Linked DNA regions of Homo sapiens: all the other regions are linked to region 1. The links are contacts of gene promoters, found by promoter capture Hi-C in human tissues and cell types (Jung and others, 2019). All regions are on one chromosome and are shown on one strand. Each heading gives the region's core, a stretch centred on a gene start or on the middle of the fragment in contact. The rest is flanking DNA. Distances are from core to core; before and after follow the strand shown.

Region 1 (4,540 bases), core at 1,099-3,598:
TTAAAGCAAAGGCACCACTCAAAGGTGGGCACAACAGTGTAGAAAACCAATCAGGAAAGGGTAGGTATATGTAAAATAGGTGAAGGGTGGGGATCAATCAGAGGAAAACATGCAAGACAGGAAGACAAGTTCTCAATCTGGTCTGAGGACTTAACTTGTAGCTTGGCTTTCGAGCTTTAAACTGTTTTTGGCTTGGAGGTGGGGTTTCAATGGGGACCCGCCACTAACTGCCTAGGCATTTGGCTGTCTCCTGTCGCTATCACTAGATCTAGTATTGTTATCATTTCACTAAATCATATATCCATACAGTTAAAAAACACCTTCATATATATACCATTTATTTCAGCAGCCTGTGTTAAAGAAACTAAGGTTTGGGCCAGGCGTGCTGGCTCACACCTGTAATCCCAGCACTTTGGGAGGCCAAGGCGGGTGGATCACGAGGTCAGAAGATCGAGACCATCCTGGCTAACATGGTGAAACCCCGTCTCTACTAAAAATACAAAAAATTAGCCGGGCGTGGTGGCGGGCACCTGTAGTCCCAGCTACTTGGGAGGCTGAGACAGGAGAATGGTGTGAACCCGGGAGGTGGAGCTTGCAGTGAGCCAAGATAGAGAGACACTGTCTCAAAAAAAAAAAAAAAAAAAAAAAGAAACTAAGGTTCACAGCTTAACTGGAGGTCATGTCTTCTCAAAGTGCTCTGCCACAAACTTCCTCATTTGTGAAATTTGGAAAATAATATCCTCTACTTGTCCACAAATAGCATCTAATCATACATAAGCATGTGAGAGCTCTTTAAAAATGCAAGGTATTAATTATTATTGGTTTTTATTTTAAATGTGGTTATACATGTTGAGATTTAAAAGATTTCCTCCCGGCCAGGCGCAGTGGCTCACGCCTGTAATCCCAGCACTTTGGGAGGCTGTAGGTGGGCGGACCACGAGGTCAGGAGATCGAGACCATCCTGGCTAACACGGTGAAACCCCGTCTCTACTAAAAATACAAAAAAATTAGCCATGCTTGGTGGCAGGTGCCTGTAGTCCCAGCTACTCAGGAGGCTGAGGCAGGAGAATGGCGTGAACCCAGGGGGCGGAGCTTGCAGTGAGCCGAGATCGCACCACTGCACTCCAGCCTGGGAGACAAAGACAGACTCAGTCTCAAAAAAAAAAAAAAAAAAAGATTTCCTCCCATGAAGTAAGCCAGAATAAACTCATACCTACTAAATTCTTTCTAAAATCTTTTCTAAATTGACACTCTTGAGAAAGAATAGAGCTTGGAGGAAGAGCTATTATTATAATTAATAGCACAATAATCAGTTTGTCATTAAACCACTTAGGTCTCTTTGTAACAAGATTTCTAAGCTTTAGTAGATGGATTCCTTATTCTATTCTATTTTATATTGTTTTGTTTTGTTTTATTTTATTTTATTTTTCGAGACAGTCTAGCTGTGTCACCCAGGCTGAAGTGCAGTAGTGCGATCTCGGCTCACCGCAACCTCTGCCTCCTGAATTGAAGTGATTCTCATTCCTTAGCCGACCAAGTAGCTGGGACCACAGGTGTGTGCCACCATGCCCAGCTAATTTTTTGTATTTTTAGTAGAGACGGGATTTCACCATCTTGGCCAGGGTGGCCTCAAGTGATCTGCCCGCCTCAGCTTCCCAAAGTGCTGAGGTTACACGCATGAGCCACCGTGCCCAGCCACTTATTTTATTTCATTTTTTAAATTTATTATTATTATTATTATTTTGAGACTGAGTCTTGCTCAGTCGCCCAGGCAGGAGTGCAGTGGTGTGATCTCGGCTCACTGCAACCTTCATCCCCTGAGTTCAAGTAATTCTCCTGCCTCAGCCTCCTGAGTAGCTGGGACCACAGGCAGGTACCACCACACCTGGCTAATTTTTGTTATTTTAGTAGAGATGGGGTTTCGCTATGTTGGCCAGGCTGGTCTTGAACTCCTGACCTCGTGATCTGCCTGCCTTGGCCTCCCAAAATGCTGGGATTAAAGGCATCCTGTTACTAATTTCACAGGATTTTAGAAACGCAAGCAGCGTTGTGGAGTCAATGGGGGAGGGCAAAGAACAGGAGGAGAGATCTGTGAGAACGGGATCGGCGAGGAGGCGACGGGGAGGAGGCGACGCGGAGGGGTGAGGGGTCCTCTCCGCCGCCAGGCGGAGTTGGGAGCCGGACGATCCCGCACGCAGCGCGAGGCGGGACCCCGGACTGACTACATTTCCCAGTCTCCGTCGCTCCGCGCGGCCCACCCCTTCGGCTCTGGGCCCCGCCTCGTGGTGCCGGCTGGTTCTTCGCGCTCGCCCGACTTCCCAGCGGCCCCGTGCGGCCCGGGCATGCCCAGTGCGGGCGCAGCGGCCCCGGCCCTGGAAGCGCCCCGGCGGAGCTGGCCTGCGGTGGGCTAGGGGCAGGGCCGGAGCCGCGGCGGCGGAGCTGTGGGTAGGTGCGGGCTCAGCCGAGCTAGGCCTCGGGGCCGCCGCGCCGCCCATTCTGAGTGGCAGGGACCGGGAGGGCAGGCAGGGCCCGAGCGTGGGTTGGTGGGGCTACCGGCGAGGACCCCTTATGGGAAGGGGCCGGAGGGAGCGGGACGGGGCCGGGCACATCCCCGGGCGAGGCTGCCCCAGGTGCGGCGCAGCTATCTTTAGCTCCCTGTGTGACCCGGAGCGTGCGTGATCCGCACCTCGCGTGATCCGTACCTCGTGCACAGTTGTGCCTAGGGAGACCAGTTTTCTGCCGAATTGCCTAGGAGCTGTGGGGAGATGGGCCTGAATGGACCCGTGGACTCAGAGGCAGCCCGTGGAGCCCCGTGGGAAGTGAGGATGTTTACCTTCCCTGTACCTGGAGTGGGCTACGACAGCTTCCTGTTTGCCGAGACTTGGGTTTAGTGACTTAGAAATAAAAGTGTGTCTCAGCAGATGCTTATTAGCTTCTAATGACTGTTGGGAATTTAATGGCATTTGTATTTCCAGGTTTGAGAGGTTATTTGTCCATGGGATGCTCGTGTTAAAACAAAAATCTTCATTGCAAAGCTTAAGTAAAAACAAGTCTCGACCGAGGTAACGTTAGAACACCGGGTTCTGAGGTTCACTGTAGCTGCCATTCATTTGCTGTCAGTCTGGGCAAGTCATTTAACTTCTGAGACTGGGTTCTCTCACCTGTTAAATGAGCCAGATGCATCTTCATCTGTCTAGCTCAGCTGTAGGATTCCCCCTGTGTCATTCAGTCTGTGTGTGTGTTCTCAAATTGTGGCAGGTTATTTTTCCCCATGCCTCAGCTATTTGTCAGACTGGGTAATTCACCAAATATTCCTGTAGGAAGGATGTTAGGATCTAAGTATAAAAGTGAAGTGATTTATCCTTCATAGGTCACTCTTAGGAGGTGTCCTGCCACTTGGTACATGCAGAAACCAGGTGTTAGCTGGCCAGGGATCAAATGACACAGCTGTTGTGGACTGAGACAGAATGTTTCAGGTTCCCTGTCAGTTCCCTGTGAGAAATCCAGGCCAAGTAATGGGCTTCCTTAAACCTCCAAGCTGGCTCACTTTGGTGGGGTTGTGTTTATATAGAATTTTAAGTTTTTTTCATGCTGTTGTGCCCTATTAGATGCAAGAAACCTATGAAGAAGTTTAGTACCCTTAATTTATAGATGAGCCAGTGGCAGGTTACGGGAGTGGATCTGTGAGTCTTTACAAACTAGTGTCGTGCATATCACTGAGCCTTTGCTAGTTATCTAGCTCAGCTGCCCTCACCTCAACCCTGAGAACATGTCTGTATGGCTGTACCTACGCGACTGGAACTCTGAGGTGTTTGTTTTCAGGAGGAAACAGTGGGAGTATTAACAGAAGTTTCTTACCCTAGAGACTTCTATCCGAAGTGAGCCTATCTGTGTAGGATTTGACCTAAGGAGCAGAGGGTATATACAATGTTGGGCAAATTGCCTTCCTACTGCCATATCCCCTGCTCTTCCAGTTCTGAATGGCATTAGTCCAGTTGGGTCAATGAGGAGCAGTTTGGTGAAGTGGTTAAAGGTCGGGGAAAGTGTGCTTATATTTTGAAATTTAAGGTTTGTACAAGCTGCTTGTGAAATTCTGTCTTTGTATTATGGTCATACCTCTTAAACTGAGAATACTGCAACTTGATTGAGTGAGTGTTGAGAACTTTAGAATATCAGGTTCTTAAAAAATGCCTGAAAGTGGGTTTTCTATTCATCTTAGAAGTCACCACAGATTAAATGAGAGAATAGTATATTAATTACAAGTATTTCTCACATGAACTCTCAAGTTCTTAATTTTTGAAACTAGATATCCCATTCACCTGAGAAATAAAATGGGAAAGCCTTACTGTTTTAAAGACTGTTTATACATATGAACTTTTTTGAGGCCTAGTTTAAAATCCACTATTTATTGCATGTTTATTAAAATTGTATCTGTATATATTTAAAGTTAGAAAACAGAAAAGACCAGCCGGGCGTGGTGGCTCATGCCTGTAATCCTAGCACTTTGGGAGGCTGAGATGGATGGATCACCTGAGATCAG
Region 2 (4,540 bases), core at 1,475-3,974, 680 kb after region 1:
CTACCATAATTATTGAATTATAGATGTTGATCTGTGTCAGCTAATGAGATGAGTTCTTAAAGTCTCATTGGTCCTACTCTGTGATTTTTGTAATGTTTTTTCCTACACTTTGTTTTCCTCAGGAATCTGCCTTTATGTCCAATTTAGAGCCCAACTAAGTAGAGTTGAATAGACAAGTGATTTGCCTGCTGGCATTCAGTACTACAGTATTGCCCCTGCCAGAGTGGTAGCTGAAATACCACTCTTGTGGTTTTGCTGACCTTGATGGCAGGATTTAAAGGGAATTGAATTTAGAGAAAAGCTGCCCCATGAAGACTAGTTTTCTCTGGTCCAAGTGTCTTCCGCCTACGCCCTCATATTCTGTATGGTCAGCTCCTTCTTCATTTATAACTCTCAACCTAGGGATCCCCTCCTGAGAGACCTTCTCTGACCATCCTATTTAAATTGGATACTTATTTTTTTTATCCAGTCTCTTGTCCGTTTCCTTTGTAGCACTTAGTATTAACTTGCAGCTTTTTTTTTTTTTTTTTGAGAGACAGTTTCGCTCTTGTTGCCCTGGGTTCAAGTGATTCTCCTGCCTCACCCTCCTGAGTAGCTGGGATTACAGGCATGTGCCACAACGCCCGGCTAATTTTGTATTTTTGGTAGAGACGGGGTTTCTCCATGTTGGTCAGGCTAGTCTCAAACTCCTGACCTCAGGTGATCTGCTAACCTCAGCCTCCCAAAGTACTGGGATTACAGGCATGTGCCTGGCCGTTTTGTTTTGTTTTGTTTTGTTTTGTTTTGAGATGGAGTTTTGCTCTTGTCGCCCAGGCTGAAGTGCAATGGCATGATCTCAGCTCACTGCAACCTCCTCCTCCTGGGTTCAAGCGATTCTCCTGCCTCAGCGTCCCGAATAGCTGGGATTACAGGCACCCGCCATCACGTCTGGCTAATTTTTGTATTTTCAGTAGAGACAGGGTTTCACCATGTTGGCCAGGCTGGTCTCGAACTCCTGACCTCAGGTGATCTGCCCACCTTAGCCTCCCAAAGTGCTGGGATTACAGGCATGAGCCACCACACCCAGCACAGTTTTTATCTTGGCTGTTTATCTGTTTTCTGACTGTTTACCCCATAGGAATAGTAACTTCACTTGGATAGGTATCATGTTAGTCTTTCTTACCCTCATAACTCAAATACAACCCTCATGTCTCAAATATGACAGTTAGGTGCTTGGTAAATATTTTTTTGATTAATAAATGATTGGGCTGGGCACAGCAGCTCAGGCCTGTAACCCCAGCACTTTGGGAAGCTGAGGCGGGAGGATCACTTGAGCCTAGTTCAAGACCAACCTGGGCATCATAGCAAGACCCCATCTCTACAAAAAGTTTAAAAATTAGCCGGGCATGGTGGTGTTTGCCTGTGGTCCCAGCTACTTGGGAGGCTGAAGCAGGACGATCGATTGAGCTGAGGCAGTCGAGGCTACAGTGAGTTGTGATCACACTGTTGCACTCCAGCCTGGGTGACAGCATAAGATCATGTCTCTAAATAAATAGGCTGGGCACAGTGGTTCACGTCTGTAATCCCAGCATTTTGGGTGGCCGAGGTGGGTGGATCACTTGAGGTCAGGATTTTGAGACCAGCCTGTCCAACATGGTGAAACCCCGTCTTTACTAAGAATACAAAAACTAGCTGGGAGTGGTGGTGCACGCCTGTAATCCCAGTTACTTGGGAGGCTGAGGCAGGAGAATCATTTGAACCCAGGAGGCAGAGGTTTCAGTGAGCCAAGATTGCGCCACTGTGCTCCAATCTGGGCAACAGACCAAGACTCTGTCTAAAAACAAACAAACAAATGATTGAAATTTTAAAACTAGCAGCTTCTATGCTATTTGTGATAAAATTTCCAAAGATTATGACCAAGTGTGTTCATGGATATCAGAAGCATAAGGACCTTTTAAAAGCTGAGGATATCTATCACATTTGATGTTTTCCTTCTCATTTCATCCTTGGGCCTCAAGATTTGCATTGTATTTTCAGCCCACATTAGGGGCAGTGTTGCAGTCTAATGGTTAAAGACATTGACTGGTAGTCAGAATGGGGCCTAGTAACATTCAAATTCTAAATCTCGGTGCCTCTTGACTACTTTCCTGATTCATAGCCTATTTCTCCAAAATGTGATAAGAATAAATGTATGCTGTCTCCAGTCCTTGGGAAAATGGAGCCATGGAATCAGGTGGCTATTGCATTCGCTGTTGTCTAAATGATTGTTCTTCGCTGGCAGCCTTTTAGGTTCCTCAGAGGTGACTGAAGTGATTTTTCTATCACTTATCTATTGCTGTACAAGTAATGGCCGTGAAACTTTGTGGCTTGTAACAACAAATATCTTATCTGCCCATGATAAAGTATATTAACAATTTGAACTGGGCTCAGTGACTCAGCCAGGCATTTTTTCTGCTGATTTTTGCACCCTCTTCACATACCTGCAGACATCTGATGGCCGCACCAGGGCTGAGTGATATAAGGGGACCATACTTCCCTGCAAGCAATTGGCCAGGCCATATATGTCCCAGCAGGCTAGCCCAGGCTTCTTCACTTTCTTCGCATGGCAGCTGGATTCCAAAAGTAACACAAGAGAAGTAAGACTTCTTGTGCCAACACTTTTCAAGCTTCTGCTTGTGTGTGTTTGCTAGTATCCCATTGGCTAAAAGCAAGCCATGTGGTTAGCCTGGAGTCACTCCGAAGAGGGGCCACACAAGGGCCTGGATACAGAGGCTTGATTTCTTGGGGCGATCACTGAAGCAGTTGTCCATAGCTCTCATGCATGCCACCAGTGCAAAGGGTCCCTGTTGTTTCTGCAAATTATGACAAATTGTGATTTTTGATGCTTACTTTCAAAGAGAAATCACCAAATTTGTTGCCATCATTCTTGACAGTCATTCCTGAAGTGGAAACTTAGACCACATCAGGTTTTGCATTCTTGTCCTATATCATGAAGCTAGAGAGTTTATGTCAGAAGTCTAGTCCTCAAAACAGCCTCTTGCCCATTGTGACCTTTAAACAGGTGCTCAGCCCTGCCAAGCTGGTTGGGCTATATGTGTGTTGTGCAGGTCCTCGAGTGGGCTCAGGAGAAGCGTAAGCTGAGCGTGTTGCATATTCACGGAGTCTACACCAACCCTAGTGGCATTGTCCTTCATCCGGCTGGATATCAGAACGTGCTCAGGAACACTGAAGTCATGGTGAGTGGGGCTGATCTTGCTGGTCTCAGGAACTCCTTCCTGGGAAATCTCTCTAAATATGCCATAGATCTTAAAGGGGAACATCTTCTTTTCATTAAGTGAAAACGGAAGGTCAGGGGCTAGGAGCAGTGGCTCATGCCTATAATCCCAACACTTTGGGAGGCCAAGGGGAGAGGATCACCTGAGGCCAGGAGTTCGAGACCAGCCTGGGCAACATAGCGAGACTCTTGTCTTTACAAAAATAAAATTAGCTAGGCATCATGGTGCATGCTGTCCCAGCTACTTGGGAGGCTGAGGCAGGAAGATTAGTTGAGACTAGGAATATAAGGCTGTAGTGAGCTGTGTCTAGAGCCACTGCACTCCAGCTTGGGTGACAGAGCAAGGCCCTATCTCTAAAAAAAGAAAGAAACTGGAAAGTCAGACGTTCTTCCTGTGCTTCTTAACTTATGGGTGTGCATGCTGTCTAGGAAATGTAGAATTTCTCTTAAGGTGTCAAACCCTATGATCTTTGTTTGTACTTAATTGACAACCAGCAGATGGCATGTCATCATTGGCATCATCTTCACATACAAAGGATACATTAGTACCCTTTATCATCATTTGGTTTATTAATAGCCCTCTCTGTGTCAGAAATAATTGAGGCAGCTTCTTAACAAACCAACCACTACTAGAGAATACATTCTAAAGAGACTTTGTATAAATGGCAATGGGCTTATATTGAATTAACCACATTTATTCACACTTACTCTTTGTGAAAAGCTTATTGATCTTTTGGGATGCACATTTTCGACTTGTTCAGATAAACATGTTCAAACCAGAAGTATTCGCTGCCCCCAGCTCTAAGAATCTTGTTTGCTGTTTTCAGGACTGGGTCATATAGATTATAGCATCTTTTAATAATGAGGCAAAAGACCGAGAAAATGTATTGTCTAAAGCACAAGGGACTTTTTTTTCTTTTTACCCATTCTTTCCCAACATCTGCCATAACTGCATCCATCTCTGACATTGAGTGATCCCTTAGGCAGTCATTTCTGTGTTTTTGTGTGTGTATATGTATACACACACACACACATACTGATGTTCTAAGTATCAAACGCCTTTCCTTGAGCAAATCCGATGATGGAATTATCTTCTCTGGTGATTCACAGTTCAGTTTGTGAGACAAAGGCAAATATGGTCCAGAAATGGAAGGATTAAGATATATGAAGACCTACTCTTTGCACAATGACCTCTGGGCACATAAATCTAAAAAAGTACGCCTGTAATCCCAACACTTTGGGAGGCTGAGGCAGGCAGATCACATGAGGTCAGGAGTTCCAGACCAG
Region 3 (4,540 bases), core at 816-3,315, 630 kb before region 1:
CTTCCTAAGTAATATTATCTATTCTTATTGTTTTAACTCTCACCTATGGGCTAACGGCTGCCAAATACCTCTCTCCAACCCTGACCTCTCTGCCACCCAACTCCAGGCTATGTGACATCTTCACACGGAAGCCTCATAAGTATTTCAATCTAAACATGTATGATACTCATTTTTTTTGTTTAAGGTTTCACACAGCAATCCTCCTTCCCTTCCTAAATCCTCCTACTTCCTACAGGTCACTAGCTCCTGACTTTACCTCTAAAATATTTTCTCAACATGCCTCATTCCTTCTATCTTTATTATAATTTCAGTCCATGTTATTTCTCCTATTTCTCTCTTGATCTATTGCAATAGCTTTTTGACCTGTGTTCCCCTCAAATTCATACGTTGGAGTCCTAACCCCCAAGTACCTCAGAATGTGAACTTATTTGGCAATGGGGTCACTGCAGATCTAATAAGAAGGGATCATACTGGAGTAGGATGGACCTAATCTAGTATGTGTCCTTATAAAAAGGGGAAATGTGGACATAGACATGCAAACACGGGGAATGCCATACCAAGACTGGAGTGATGCTGCCACAAGTCAAGGAATTACCAGAAGCTAGGAGAGAACCCTAAGGCAGAGCCCTCCCTAGAAGCTTCAGAGAGAGCATGGCCCTGCTGACACCTCGATCTCCCACTTCTGGCTTCCACGACTTTGAGATAATGCATTTCTGTTGTTTAAGCCACTCAGTTTGTGGTATTTTGTTATAGGAGCCCTAGAAAATGAATACAAACTTCCTTTCTTATTTTATTTGCCTCCAGTTTCCCCTCGAATGACCCCCTGCAGACTGAGTAAGCTATCTGAAAGGTACATGTAACCCTGACAGTCCCCAAATTAAAAACCGCTCATTCCCTCACCTCTCAATCCCCAGATTACGAGTCTGGTTTACAAAGCTCTTGCCTCACTCAATTCATGCTTTTCTCTCCAGCAGTGATGAACTGCTGGGCTCTGACTAAACACTTGATGTTATTTCAAGCTGTTGACCTTTGCTCATTTCCCAACCCTAACACCCACTTATACTCCTACCTTTTTTCCCCATCTTTTAAAATTCAGTGCACACATTCCTTCTACCAGAAAACCTCCCCCTGATATTCCCACACCCTGTGTCCTACCCTACCAACACCCCCTCCACCAGCACCAGCTTCCTGGATGGGGTAGGTGACCTTTCTCTGATTGCTATGCATTCTCTGCATAATTGACTTATGATAGTTCCTGCAGTTTAGTAAAATGATCTCCACATCTGTTTGCCTCACTAAGTTGTGAATTCCTAGGTGCTCTGTAATTGTGTGTGTGTGTGTGTGTGTATATGTGTATGTACTCATAAATAGGTATATTTAAATAAGATCACTTCTCAAAGGATTGGTAGGGGGCGGTAGAGGAGGTAAGCAGCTATGGAGTGGAGTGAATTATGGATAGGTGGGTATGACTATCCCACATTAGGAGGCTCATTATCTCCAAAGCTTCTTTCATCTGCCTTACTCTTTTACACACAGAGAAGCCAGAGTCGGGGGCTGGGGAGGTATAAAAAGAAAATTTCCCCTACCCCTACCCATCAAGCCCCACCACAATCCCTTGGAAAGAATGCCAGACTGGCCCACGCCAACAAGTCATCCCATACGAAATGGCCCAGTGCCCGCCATCTAATGTACTGAATGCCGTGGGAGCTCCAAAGTCATGCAGCCTTTTGGGGGAAGGGGGTAGGGGCCGCGCGGGAGGCACACAAAATAAAGAAATACGTTCAACGCTAATGCCTGAATTCCCTGACATGTTTCCCACGGCAGCTGAACTCTCCCCCACTCCTGCCCCAAAGGCATTCAGGCCCTCCACTCTCCCCTCCGTCTGCTGTAAAAGCCCCGGGTCCTTTCTTCAGACCCTTTCTTACCCTCTGGCCTCCTACCTGTCTGGATCAGAAGAAGGTAGACAAAAGGAGCAAGGCGCAGGGCCCTGGAGGCTCTGGACAGGGCTCCCCTTTCTCTCTTCATTTTGGGTGGCGTTCTCCAGCTCTAGTGCAGACAATTAGCATGATTTCTCCACTCTGGGCACGTCCCCTTTGTACCACTCGGAGTTTCTCTGCCCGAACACAACCCTGCCAACTTCCCTCTGAATACACAGAGCTCTGTGTATTGCTGGACTTGTTCTTTCCTCTCCCTCAGACCTGGCATTTTCTAGTTTCCAAGCCCTACATCCCCAGTTTGGAAGCAGGTATCTGCTTAGGAGATAATCTCCAACTCAGGTTCCAACATGGGGGGCACCGGCAGCCCAGCAGTTGGTTGCTTGTCTGTGCTGAGCCTCACTACCCAGGGAGATGAGGATCTGGGCTCAGAGCACTGAGCTGGGACACACACTTAACTGGACTTTGTGTCCCAACCTACCCTGTCTCCACCTAACACTCCTTCTCCCTGAGGAGGAGGGTACATGCCAGGACAGACCTCCAATAAGCTCTGAAAAGGGAGGGAGAAGAGATTTTAAAAAGCTGGGAAGTGAAAGACTCCAGACAACTGCTGAAGAAATGGAAAACCCCTGTTCCATCCCAAAGGAAGAAGACTGGAAAACAGCTTGAATTCTATTATTGTTACACTTGTCTTTCCGTGGCTTGGAATTTTCTCTTCTATCATAGAATCACATAGATGCTGGACACCTCTTTCCAGAAGCCACTCTGTTCATTCCCCTGCTTTCAGGCAATTTTCTAGAACATGTCTGAGCAAAATGAAGGTCATCTCCTAACAGCCAGCATCCTAGGGTTCTGTTACCAGCTTAACAGCCTAGCTGTGCCCTCCTGTTTTGAGGCTGTGAAGAGGAGAAACACTCTAGCTCTACTCTGACCCCCATTCATGTGTTCACACCTTTTCATGAGGGCGGCCAAGGGAATGGATGCCTAGTAACTGTGATCTTGGGATGGGCTCGCAACCTCTTTGAGCCTTCAATTTCTCATCTGTAAAATGGGGAAAAGAAGAGCTTCCTTGAGGGGAATTGTTGGGAGCGTTGATGGAGATTTGGTACAGAAGAGTACCTAGCAAATCCTTTGTTACAGAGATGATGTTTTAAACTTTTTAAAAATTGCCTTGTTTCTTTTTTCATTCATGCTGGGATCTTTATATTTTTGGGAGACCAAACTTCACAACTTCCTTCTTGGTCATCCCTAACCCCTGGTCTTGGTTTTGTAAGTGCAGCAATTATCTCTCTAAATATTCTTTTTACATACTGGAGAAAGCCTGAGTAGGTCAACTTTCTAGAACTGAAGCATTATTACATAGCCCTTCTGAGCCTCGGCAGAGGGAGAAGAGTTGGGAAGCACTGAACTTCACAGACCTCTCTGAAAACATTCTGAAATATATAAAGGGGATTCTTTTTTCCTTTTGCATTTCTGTGTTTATGACTTTTCCCTAGACAACTCAAGGCACCTTTCTTCCACTGGAAGAGGTAATGTTATTATAGCAGGTACACAAAAAGAGTCAATATTCAGCTTCTGACATTTAAAATAGCATTTCAAAGTCCATAGCAAGATGAAAGGCTTAGCCAGTCTTTGTAAGGGACAAAAGAGCATTCTAATTTCTTTTATCTACCCCTTGACATATCATAGATCAGCCTGTGGACTGGATCACAGAGTCCTTCTGGAGTGTAGATAAATGGCCTCTTTGCCTGTGATGGCTGGGCCTTGAGGCTTATGGATGGGAGTAAAAGGAGGATGCAGTGTTTGGGAAATAGAAAGCCCGAAGTCTGCCCTTGTTATCCTGAAGCACTGTGGAAAGAAAAATGTGCTAGAGGGAGACTAAAAGGATCTAAGTTCTCAATATCCCCACTTCCCCGCCCCAGAGGTGGCTCTTTATACCTGCACAGAATTTGCAAGGGCTTCTAGGTGTCCAGAAGCCCTTTAGGAGACTCAGAAGTGCCGAGAGGGTAAAGAACTGGCAGGAAACAGAAGATTGAGCAAAGGCACTGCCATGTACGGGGATTCTGAGGCCAGAGGCAACAGCTGGGACCACCTACTGCTGTGGTGGGAGCCTCAGGTAGCTCATCAGGCCAGGAAAAAATGTAGACCCTGAGTAGAGACTGGTGGGAAACCTGAGAATACCACACAGGTCCACAGACACTGTCTCCCCCTGTTGCCACAAGGTTACTTCAGCCACACCATGTATATTTACCCCAACTCTTATTAGAGAGGAGCTGGGATTGGGAGAGGACATTGGAAAGACTGCTTGAGCAATTGCCTGAGCTGTCCAAGCAGAGACTGAGCTACCTAAAGACAGTGTGAAAATGGTTGGATCAGACTGGGCTTACTGAGATGGAGTGATATTTTCCTCTGCTACCCTGGGGGCGGTGAGAGGTTCATGTGGAAGATCACAGCAACTACAAAGACATAAAGGCCTTCCCTTTCCTTTGTACGTTGGAATGTATGAGGAGTAATTTTGCAATCTTGCTTCCAGCGACTGAGTAGGCCTTTAGAAACTTATAATCATCTACTTATGTGCCTTTCTCTCCTAAGAAACAGAGAGCTCT

The links. Contacts are between HindIII fragments. The study calls those that stand out against the background at their distance.
Region 2: a fragment that was not itself captured here is called in contact with the fragment with the promoter of EI24 in region 1 in 1 of the 25 tissues and cell types used here (liver).
Region 3: the fragment with the promoter of HEPACAM here is called in contact with the fragment with the promoter of EI24 in region 1 in 2 of the 25 tissues and cell types used here (aorta and dorsolateral prefrontal cortex).

Annotation. Positions count from the first base shown.
Region 1 is chr11:125,567,129-125,571,668 of GRCh38, forward strand. It overlaps EI24 (EI24 autophagy associated transmembrane protein), which reads left to right and starts at 2,349. Exons shown (of 11, transcript NM_004879.5): 1 at 2,349-2,445. It overlaps STT3A-AS1 (STT3A antisense RNA 1), which reads right to left. Exons shown (of 4, transcript NR_132372.1): 3 at 3,162-3,314; 4 at 980-990. RefSeq lists enhancers at 2,013-2,514, 3,017-3,066 and a silencer at 2,017-2,576. The HindIII fragment of the contact is 7,956 bases long and covers 1-4,540 here.
Region 2 is chr11:126,251,219-126,255,758 of GRCh38, forward strand. FAM118B (family with sequence similarity 118 member B) reads left to right here. Exons shown (of 9, transcript NM_024556.4): 6 at 3,087-3,215. It also overlaps a transcript of SRPRA not described here. Among named protein-coding and RNA genes, the nearest start is that of SRPRA, 15 kb to the right of the region's middle. The HindIII fragment of the contact is 4,042 bases long and covers 704-4,540 here.
Region 3 is chr11:124,933,982-124,938,521 of GRCh38, forward strand. HEPACAM (hepatic and glial cell adhesion molecule) reads right to left here and starts at 2,066. Exons shown (of 7, transcript NM_152722.5): 1 at 1,941-2,066. The coding sequence starts at 2,025. The region is part of intron 1 of LOC107984406 (a long non-coding RNA gene); the gene reads left to right. The HindIII fragment of the contact is 7,366 bases long and covers 1,071-4,540 here.